Regions from separate parts of the Homo sapiens genome. Here region 1 is linked to region 2. Evidence: promoter capture Hi-C in 16 types of primary human blood cells and fetal thymus (Javierre and others, 2016). All regions are on one chromosome and are shown on one strand. The core of a region is centred on a gene start or on the middle of the fragment in contact, and the rest is flanking DNA. Distances in the headings are between cores, read along the strand shown.

Region 1 (5,399 bases), core at 2,251-4,750, 1.4 Mb after region 2:
CATATGCATTTTAGGACAACAAACATTCAGTCTATGACAAGGCAGGAAAGACACACTTTTCTTTGTCTCTCTTACAATCAAAACAAGAGTTTGTTTGGTAATGGCTTTTATTTTCTTTTGTAGGTCTCTACCTAATACAAAAAAATCTATTTTCAACCTTTTTATTATTTTGCAAGAATTGTAGATAGTAATTCAATTAAGTCTAAAATAATATCTTAGTTAGTTCAGGCTGCCATAACAAAGTATGGTGAACTAGGTGGCTTATACACAACAGACGTTTATTCCTCTCAGTTCTGGGGGCTAGAAGTCTGATATCAGAGGACATGGCCAGCCTTATTGGGTTCTGGCAAGCACCCTCTTCCAGGTTGTCGGCTGCCAACTTCTCTTTACGTTCTTACATGGGGGAAGGAGGGCTAGAGTGCTTTTTGCTGTCCCCTTTATACAGATACTAATGCCATCCATGAGTGCTGCACCCTCATGACCTAAGTACCTCACAAAGGCTACAACTCCTAATACCAACACATGGGGTTTAGGATATCAAAATGTGAATCTGGGAAAGTCACAAGCATTCAGTTCATAACAAATAACATGATTACACCAGACCAGAAATGATCCACATTGGTAACAGAAACAAAAGCTGACCAAAAGTGAGCATTTTTACTTTGAGGAAAATATTGCTTGTCTTGTGTTTGCACTTGTGACATTCATCCTTGTACTAGACCAACAGGAAGGACATTTTCTACATAAAGTATTTTTACATGTAACTTATGGAGTAATTTGTGTAAGGTTAGCAGTTTGGCAGTTGAACGTTGAAGAACACTAAAGGAAATATCCTTTAGTAAAATGCAGCAATTAAAGAAACAGGTTCATTTGTATGTGAAGCAATTGCTGAGAAGTACAAGGTTATTTTGCTTAAAAAATAGCAAAATACCAAAATATATCAAGTTATTGTAAACTTTCTCTCTTTTTCACATTTACCCATGGTAACACACACGCAAAAATCCTGAACTTTTAAAAAGAAATCCCCTGTAAAGGTGTATTTAAAAATAGGTTATAGAAGCACCAGGGATCTTACCGTAAATCTAAATTTGGTAAACAAGATATGAATATATAAGCCAGAATTATAACAATGAAATTACATAGGAGAGGATGAATATGAAATACATTTAGAAAACCCATTATAGGCATAGGATTCAATGACTATGTACTACTGAGCCAACCTGTTAAATGGAGTAATTTTTAGTTTTCTTTAAATATAGTTTTTTTAAAAAACTCCCTCAAGTTTATAATGAAGAATGAATGAGATAATACATGCAATGATGCCTTCAACCATTGTAAAGTACATACATTTTTTATTTTTTAATGATATTTGAAAATGAGCCTTATAGAGCCACAAGGGAGGGAGATATTAAATGTAACTTCATAATTATTTTATTATAGTTGTAATATGTGTCTCAAAGTAAAATGATATACTGTTGTAGCAGTTTATAAATAGGGTACTTGGTTTAGCTGAGGGAATTTATTGTTAAGTAGTTAATATAAACACAGAATTTTGCTACAATTATAGTTAAAATAACTGGCAGTATAATTCAGTTTTTCTTCTTGATTCTCCTTACAGCATAAAGAGAATACAGGCATGTTTTCATGTTTCTCAAGATTTCTGGTGTAAAACTTTCCAAAACATCTTTATTGACAAAAATACAATCTTTTTAAGATAATATTCACATATAAAAATACCGTGGAGTAAAAGAGATTGTTTAATTTTGAGCTCCAATACTCTGATAAACCTCAATTTCTACCATATATTTAGTTATTAACCTCAATTTCTACCATATATTTAGTCATTTTACTTATTTTACCATGAGTTTTTATTATACAAATAATGGAAAAATGTGCATTTGTTTGCTTATTTGTGATATAGAAAAAAGTCTGATGTATAGTCGCATTTCCAGACTTCATTAAAAATTCAAGCTTCTCATTTCCCTCAGCATAGGCTGCTTCTCATACAGAAGTCTGTAGTAGGGTGAAGAAGCATGATCACTTTTCTTCTGCACACCAGTGTTGCTTTTCTTCTAGGCCTCAGCTCACTCCTAGTACTTCAGCCTCATTTTCTTTTTCTCCCATGGTTGAAGTGTGGAGGAACAGAAAGGAGATAAATCAGGAAATGATTTATTTTATTGACATTAATATGTTTCTGCTTTTTTAATAGACAATGAAGATGTTTGGAGCTCAATTCTACTAGGGTTGAATTCGTGAGGTTTTTGGAGACTCTCCCTTAACATAGATAATTCGTCTGTAGATTTCTTAACACTTCTATTCTCCATCTGGGGTCTTAGCTCTTTGTTCTCAATTTCTGGTTTGCAACAATAGACCCAACACAGATGTTCTCTTCTGGTGCTTCATCAGCTAACTGTCTTAGACAAAGTCCCTTTAAAATAGCTCCAGGTAAATTCTCTTTGCTACATAGATCTAAAGGGAATATATTCTGACATTATTTGCCCAGAAATCTCTGAAGTGAAGCTTGTTTCCTAGATAGCCATCTCCCCTCAGTCAATCAGATGGTTAGCCAATCATCTTCGCAGGCTTTCAGGCTTCTCAGCCATGAGTATGGAACCAGCCATTGTGCTCCCTTTCCCCTAAGATGTCAAAGAAAACAGTCCAAGATCCCTTTATGATCTTCTGAACCTTTTCTTACTGTGTTAAAAACAAGATTGAAGCATCATCCTCTATTATGACTGCTATGAAAAGGGTCAGACTCACACTGTACTAGCAATGTCTTCCAAAAAAAATCCTCCCCATCTGATTTTTCAAAACTACTGCCTTTATACACTCAAAGGAGATAACCTAAATAATTGACAATTAATTTTTCACCACCTCTTTTCTCATCCCTTCCCAAGTCATCTGACAACTCATAGATGTTGGGGATCATAACATGAGACATCTGATATTGAGTCAGTAACAATCCCATTTGGTGTCCTAGTACAAAAATACAAAAAATCATAAGCAAAATGACAAGAGTACCATAGACAATGCTGACAAAGTCTTTAAATCATTTGCAATACTTTCTTAAATTAGCTCATTATTAATTTCCTGCCAGGAAATCATTGCCCTAAACAATGTATGTAATTCTGATATATGTCATTATTAACTCTATTTTGCTGACAGCTGAATGAATGGGTGATTTTTTTTCTTATTTTAGGACATAGGGAACTGTTTTAAACATTTATTTTGAAATAAAATGCACTGTATAATTATGTATAAAATGCATCATTCATTTCAGAATTAGTTTATCTTTTCAAGAGTTTTCTTGGGCTGCACAATTGATCATACATTTTTCATACTATTTTAGATTTGTACATTTTTGAATTTTGGTATAATTTAGTTCCAACTGTGTTAGAAAATGAATACCAAATACTATCTGGAGGCAAACTGAGGGGAAAAGTGCTTTATCTGATAAACTGAAATGTTAGGTCATTAATCATATACTTCCTCATCATATATTTTATCCCCAAGACAGATTATTTGCATTCAAGTCATACAAGGAGGCTTATAAGTCACAGCCGTATCTAAAGTGAGAAACCTGGGGATATTTAATATTCTTTAAGTCTTCATTCTAACCTCCTAGTTTTCTTTTATACATTCAAGAGGCTATAAAATTAGAAACAAACAAATAAACAAAATAACACTTTCTCAACTCCTTTGAAGCTAAGATTCTTCAGGTAGATGTACTCACATAAAACTTGCAGGCAGAAGAAAGAAATATGATCAAACGGGTTGGTGAAGAAGTTTTGGTCTTTTGGCTCTTTCTCTTCTGAAACCTCTGATAGATATTTTATACAGAATTATACAGTACATTATATTTCAAAATGAATGTTTTAAATGGATCTCTGTGTCCTGAAATAAGAAAAAAATTTCCATTCATTTAGCTGTCAGTGAAATAAAGTTAATAATGACTTATATACCATAATGACTTATCAGAGGTGACTACTTCCAGGTGGTTGCAAAACAAGTTTTATAACAATGGCACCAGTGTTTCTTCTGGCCATTTTCTGCCACACATAATCCAAGTCTTATTCTCTTGTCTATATATTTTAGTAAATTATTATTTTCTTAAACTAGCAAGAATGTATTCTATGTTGTCCAGCTAAGATAGCAGGGAGCAATGAAGACATTAGAGGCCTAGTACGATACAAATAAAGAAGTGATGGTTTCTGACTTGAATGGGCTTGAGGACTGTGCAATTCTAGTTAGAAGTTGAGAAGATTTGGTAAAGATTTTTTTTTTTTTTTATGTCGCCAAAGAAGATGGGTGGAAAGTTGTAAACCTTCTCTAGACATACAGGATACTATTATTTGACAGTTTAAGGGCCATAGGAAATTCAAGACTATGGAAAGGGCTGATTCCTTCTAATTAGGAAAGATGATAAAATGAAAATTTAAAGATTTGAAAAGACCAATGCAAGGCTTTGTCAGAGAATCAAGAAGCTTCTTTTATTTTTTTAAGTGCCATATATATATATTGCAGCAGCTCTGATTAATGAAAATTGGGTTTAAAATTTACATCCTTGCCAAGAGAAATATATAACTTTCTTTAGAAGAATGTGGAAACCTTGAGAGAATTTGGGTGACTCTAAGTAATGAGAACTTAATCCCACTAAAACTTCCTTGCCAGCAGAAGTAGTACATTTTTTCACCTCTTGATATATTGAGGGTGTTTCTTCCTTTTATAAAAGCACAGAAGAGCTTCAGCAAAAACAGTACTAAGAGGGAAGTTTATAGTAATAAATGTCTACATTTAAGAAAGATCTGAAATAAACAACTATAAGAAACTAAAAAAAGAACAAGTTACAAGCAAAATTAACAAAAGGAAGGAAATAATAAAGACCAGAACAGAAATAAACAAAATGGAGAATACAAAAACAATAGGAAAAAACCCCAGTAAAACAAAGAGTTGGTTCTCTGAAAGATGTGATTGAAAACCCCTTAACCAGTGGGAGAAAAAAAAAGAGAGAAGGCTGAAATAAAAGCAGAAACATAAGAGTAGTCATAATAAAGATGCCACAGGAATAAAAAGATAAGAAACTACCATGAAAATTACTTATTAGCAAATGGGACAACCTAGAATAAATGAACAAATTCCTAGAACCATAAAACCTGTCAAGCGTGAATCAAGAAGAAATAGAAAGCCTGAACAGACGAATAATAATAAAAAAAAAAGTCAGTAATTCAAAACCTCTCAAAAAAGAATAGCCCAGGGCAAGATGACTTCACAGGTGAATTCTAAAAAATACTGAAAGTATAATTAATGCCAAACCTTTGTATACTCTTCCCTCAAATAGAAGAAGATGGAATATATCCAAACTCATTTTATTAGGCAAGCATCACCCTAATAACAACACA
Region 2 (5,532 bases), core at 2,439-4,938:
ACACAAGAAAAAGTACATTTCCTGATGTTCATAAAATGACTTGTGGATCTAAATGCTCTTCTGGATTCCTAGGGGATTCAGTTCTAATTGAGTGTGGTATCTATGAAAAAGCTGATATACACTAATTAATAAGTTCCATGATTTCCAAATTAGAACAAAGTGTTGAGGTTACACTAATAAGGAGTTACCTTAAAAACCTAGTCAGGTTGCAAGGATAATAAAGGCCAAGACCATTAAAACAGATAGCAATAAGATAAAAAGATGATAGCCCCAATCAAAAAGAACAAAAGAATAAGTCCACACTTCTTACCCCCTATTTTGACTATTATCCCCAGTCAATTCACTTTTAAAGTGATGCTAGAAGGGTCAGAGAAACATAATTTTCCTTTGACATCCCAAAAGCACAACCTGAAGCTTTCTACCTCCAGCAGCATTTATAACTTTGGCATATACATTTCTCCAAAAAGCGTATGTCTTCTTGACATCAGTTGGCTCTCTTGCTAGTACTTTTGCTTGGTGCCAGCTTCCCTCTTAGCTTGCATAGCTATAAATTTCCAAGTGATAGGCTGTAAAGGAAGATTCCTGCTTTGCAGTCTCATTAATGAATTAGAAGATGCAAATATAAGACTTCTTACCTTGAACTGACAGACGCAAGTCACAGTGTCTCCAATTCTTAAACATTCCCCATCAAATTTACAGGTGTTGGTGTCACAGAGGAAGAGATCATTTTCTCTGTCATCATAACCTCAAATTCAAAGAGAACACTCCAGTCATTAAAACATCTTACAGATTTTTAACAAAAAAAAGCACTACTTTGAAGCTTTAAAATACTTGTCCTAAATTTTAAATCCAACAACTATAGCTGTACTGCAAGGTCACTGTCTACTGATAACCTCAAAATCTAGTTAAGTGATCAATATTCGTTTCCATTTTCCACAATTCTTTTCTAGTCAATTCTCCTTTAGTATCCTTTTCTGATAGTGCTATTTTTTAAAGCTTGCGTTAATACTGACAGTGGTGAATGAAAGCTTAACATTTGCTTCCTGTTTTTTTTTTATTTTTATTTTTTGCTCATTAGGTGGACAATATTTATGACCACAAAACTCCACATTTTGGAAAAGAGCTAGTGATGATCTCTGAATACCCTTTTACCATTTCCCCATCTTTAATTGTTCTTTTGCTTCAACGACTGAAACAACCCCTTATTTGAAATGTATCCAGACAAAGAGGAAACAAAGCCTCAATAATAAAGATAAACAGGCACAGTGTTTTCTGTGATGGTCTGTTTGGCTCAAATGAAGATTGATCACCTCTAAGTTAACAGGGGTGGAAGCGGGGTGCCAAGTTCTTGACAACCTATCTGCAAAACCAGTTTATTCTCTTTAGTTTATGCAGTCCCCTTTAAAATATCTGGTAAATATGTAATTTCTTGATTGCAAATGTCAACTTCACATTTAAGTTAGTTATTTCCTAAAACAATGCAAGGGCTAGGAATGAAGCAAACCAGTCTGTGTTGGACTACAAAGCCATCAACATTTCCAAAAATTGTTTTTGCAGGCTCATAATTATTACCATAATAAAGCATCTAAAAAGTGATTAGGCAATAGCAAAGTGAAACTTATTCTTTCAAAAACAACACACATGTACGCATGAATCAAGAAGTTATAGAAACATGTTGAGTTTTATTAAAATGCCAAATTTAGAAACTGCCAAAAAAGAGAACAATCTATTGACCCAAATCTAATAGGGTTGCATATCTCAACTTGTCTTTGTAAAGGATAAATTAGAATGATGCATAATAATTTTCCTTTTGGCATTTACATCAGTAATAACTAGGAACTATACAGGCTTTCACCCTGAGTTACAGTTGGTCATTCCCTCCTCTCTAAAGTTACATACACTTCAGCTTATATACATCTTTGAAAGACACTTTATTCAGAGCCAGATTTAACTACAGCAAAATTATATTCACAGAAGATGAAAAATTACATACACACTTGCTAAAACTAGAACAGACCACACCTAGGGGACAATACCCAGGCATGTTAACGGAGTTTAAAATGCCAAGGAAATTACACCACAATTCTGCCCAGTATACTACAGGCTGTCAAACCGAAATGCTATGCCAGCTAGGAGTGCAGCAACTCCCATCCTCTGGCCCTATTTAATTAGGAAGCTTCAGCAGAGCGAAGCCTGCCAAGCGTTCGCCGTCAGAATCTGAAGGAACCCGAGCGAGCAAGAAGAGTGCCTGACCCACTCCACAGAAGCCTGTCCAGAAATGGAGGAGTCAGCGCCCACTGAAGTCGGTTCCGCCCTCGGCTCGCCTACATGGAGCCTGACCAGCCTCAGTCATGCCCACTCCGGCCTGGGAGACCCGCAAAGTGTTCTTTTTCTCAACTCCCCTGTACTACCTTGAAGCTTAGGGAAGCAAAGAGAGGGGCATATCTGGACTGCAAAACCAATGTCTTTTGCCGCCTAGGAGAGAAGGGAATGAGAGAGAGAGAGAGATAGATAGATAGAGAGAGAGAGAGAGAGAGAGAGAGAGAGAGAGAGAGAGAGAGAGAAATTCTATTGAAACCCAGCTCCTCTAGAATCTGTGTGACCTGGTCTTCAACGGGAGACCAGTGCGACCTCATGGCACCTTTGCCAGGAATCAGCGATTCCCCTGCAGTCACCATTTGATTTATTGCTTTCTCGCTCATTCTTTCTCATAAAGTTATTTCTTCCTCATCCTAGTAAGACTTTTTTCTTTAATGATGACAAAGCTTCTGTTTCAGTGTTTCCCCTAGGATTGGTGCTCTTTCAAAACAGTGAACCCAGAAAACCATCCCGTTTAATATTTCTCAAAATCCTCGCAGCTCCAATGTAAGCGCAAGCATGCAAAGGTTTCCTGCTACACCTGCACTTTCTGCCCATCCCAGAACCACCCCTCACCCCCGGGCCTGCAACAGTTCCCCTTGTTTCTCTGGATAGAGGTGGGTGGTATTAGGGGTCTAGGGCAGTAGGAGGTGAGGGGCTGAGGAGGCGCGCTAGGGTAGGCTGGTCTGTGCTGGATACGCGTGTTCTTCTGCGGAGTTAAAGGGTCGGGGACGGGGGTTCTGGACTTACCAGAGCAATTCCAGCCGGTGGGCGTTTGGCAGTCACTTAAGGAGGTAGGGAAAGCAGCGAGCTTCACCGGGCGGGCTACGATGAGTAGCATGACGGGCAGCAGCAGCAGCCAGCAAAAGCCCTCGCAAAGTGTCCAGCTGCTGCACTGCCGCGGGGACTCCCACAGCACCATGACTAGTTCGTGCAACTCTGCAGCAGCAAACGGCTTCCGAGGAACACAGGATCGCGGGGGCCGGGCAGCGGGCTACTGAGCATCCCGCGGACGGCGGCAGCAGAGGCGGCGGCGGTGGCAGTGGCACCCGGCGGGGAAGCAGCAGCCAAACCCGCGCATGATCTCGAGAGTTTCAGCAACATCCAGGGACTGGGCTCAGCCCCGGAGCGAGAGGGTCGTCCGCTGAGAAGCTGCGCCGGAGACGCGGGAAGCTGCTGCCATAAGGAGGGAGCTCTGGGAAGCCGGAGGACAGGAGGAGACGGGAGTCCAGGGGCAGACGAGTGGAGCCCGAGGAGGCAGGGTGGAGGGAGAGTCAAGGCGCCCCGCAGCCCGGCAGCCGCCTCTCGAGCTCTGCCGCCCGCATCCCTCTGGCGTTTGGGAAGCAGCAGGTCCTCAGCCCGCCCGGGGTCACGTGGGAAGAGGCAGTCGGGCTCTGATTGGTGGAGCAGGATGCAGGTCCCGGGAGGGAGGGGTCGACGAGGAGGTGCAAGGATGCAAGGAGGAGGCGGCCGCGGAAGCCACAGATGGGCTCGCTCGCCAGGCGCTGGCCCGAGTGGGGCTAGGCGGGGATGGCTCAAATGAGAAGCTCGGGCTTCAGGGTGGGCTACCCGCACACTCATATACCATTCGCCTCACTCTCCGCTCCAGGACGCCCCCTACCGAAGGCGGGGTCCGGACTAGCGCCCCTCTTCCGCGCGTGACCCCGGGCCGCGAGTGCGGGCCGCGGCTGGGTGGCGTCTCTCCGAGCTGGAGATGGTGGGGGCGGAGGTGTCAGAGGAGCAGCAGCAGCAGGGCAGAGAGGGGCGAGTCGGCGCGGGAGAGGGCGTCCTGCTGGCGACCGGCGCTCCAGCGTGCGGGAGCGCGCCGCCTAGGCTGTAGGGGGATGCAGGCTGGGAATGTCGCGGCGGAGAGGCCAGGGACGTTTCTCTAGGGATTTACAGGAAAGAGGGTGAGAGGCGATGGTGTTAGAACCGCTCTTGCCGACCTGGAAGCAACAGCAGCATCTCCCACAAGAGCGTGCAACCCCAAGGCTGCTCGCCGAGGCAGCTCAGCCATCCCGGCAGGCGCTCTCCTTCCTTCTCTCTTCTCCCCTCTCTCCTCCCAGGCCCCCCGCAGCTCCGACCCAGCCCAAGCGTTCGCAGGTTTGAATCCCTCTCCTCATCACCCGCTCCTCTCCAGCCCGTAGCCTATTAGTGTGTCCACCTGGGAGGTGCGGTCAGATGTGTTTGGAAGGTCAGATTGGTCGGGACAAGTGGTCTGAGAGAAAGAGAAAGGCTCCTCTGCATACGCCGCGGGTGGGTTGCCGGGAGCATCGGCCGGGCAGCGGCGTCCGGGAAGGGGAGAGCGGGCTCCATTTGTTGGCCCAGGCAGTGACCCTGCGTTCCTTACTCGGGTCTTTGCCGGATGGCCGGTGACCTGGGGCGACGAGAGAAGGTCTAACTCGGCAGGAGTCTCTGGCTCTGCGCGTTTCTTTCATTCTCTCCAGCGGGAAGGGCAAACGGCATAGCGGGACCCGCCTTCCGTCTGCTGCATTCTTCAGGCAGTTAGACACACTCTTTAGCCTAATGGAATTTTAGTCGCCAGTAACGGGACCAAGAGCTTTCGGGGACAAGGGTGGAGAGGAACATCTTTCTTCCATGACCGGGGTCACTATTGCAGTCTCAGTGTTTTGGATGCCCCATAGGGAAGAGCTTTCTTTTTGGTGTGTGATTATTCAGTGATTCCTGTTTTTGTTTTTGTTTATCTTCTCTCCGCTCTCCTTCTCTATTCCTCTCTGTTATCCCTCCTCCTTCTTCTCCCCCCGCTTTCAAAAGCCTCCGGATCCTCCCTTTTTCTATTTAAATTCTCCTTTTGTGCCCCTCTTTCTGTGTCCCCTGAATTTAGGAGAGCATTTGATAACATTTAACAGGCAATTAGTGTCCATTCCCAATCACTTAAAAGAGGCATTCATATACTTTGAAAACGGGACTATCTATCCTTTGCAGACACCAGCAGAAAAACAAATTGTACCCGAGTAATCCTTTTAAGTACTTTAACCTCCAACCTCCTCCCACTTCCTTGCTTTTTAACTTCTCCTTTGAGAGATGTGATCGTGCAGCACCTCAGTGCCTCAACGAAATCTTTTTTTTTTTCCTGTGTGAAATCCATCCCTTTATCTTACATCTCCGCCTCCGTCCGAGACTGTCCCTCTCCCCTCCCACCTCCAAAGATTT

Evidence for each region. The method cuts DNA at HindIII sites, captures the fragments that hold promoters and counts their contacts. A CHiCAGO score of 5 or more calls a contact.
Region 1: a fragment that was not itself captured here is called in contact with the fragment with the promoter of TMEFF2 in region 2 in 1 of 17 cell types (M2 macrophages); the score reaches 5.4 in M2 macrophages.

What each region holds. Positions count from the first base shown.
Region 1 is chr2:193,572,719-193,578,117 of GRCh38, forward strand. No RefSeq gene overlaps it. Among named protein-coding and RNA genes, the nearest start is that of LINC01821, 770 kb to the right of the region's middle. The HindIII fragment of the contact is 1,964 bases long and covers 2,519-4,482 here.
Region 2 is chr2:192,191,245-192,196,776 of GRCh38, forward strand. It overlaps TMEFF2 (transmembrane protein with EGF like and two follistatin like domains 2), which reads right to left and starts at 3,689. Exons shown (of 10, transcript NM_016192.4): 1 at 3,109-3,689; 2 at 636-745. The coding sequence starts at 3,280. RefSeq lists an enhancer at 3,635-4,210. The HindIII fragment of the contact is 4,792 bases long and covers 2,764-5,532 here.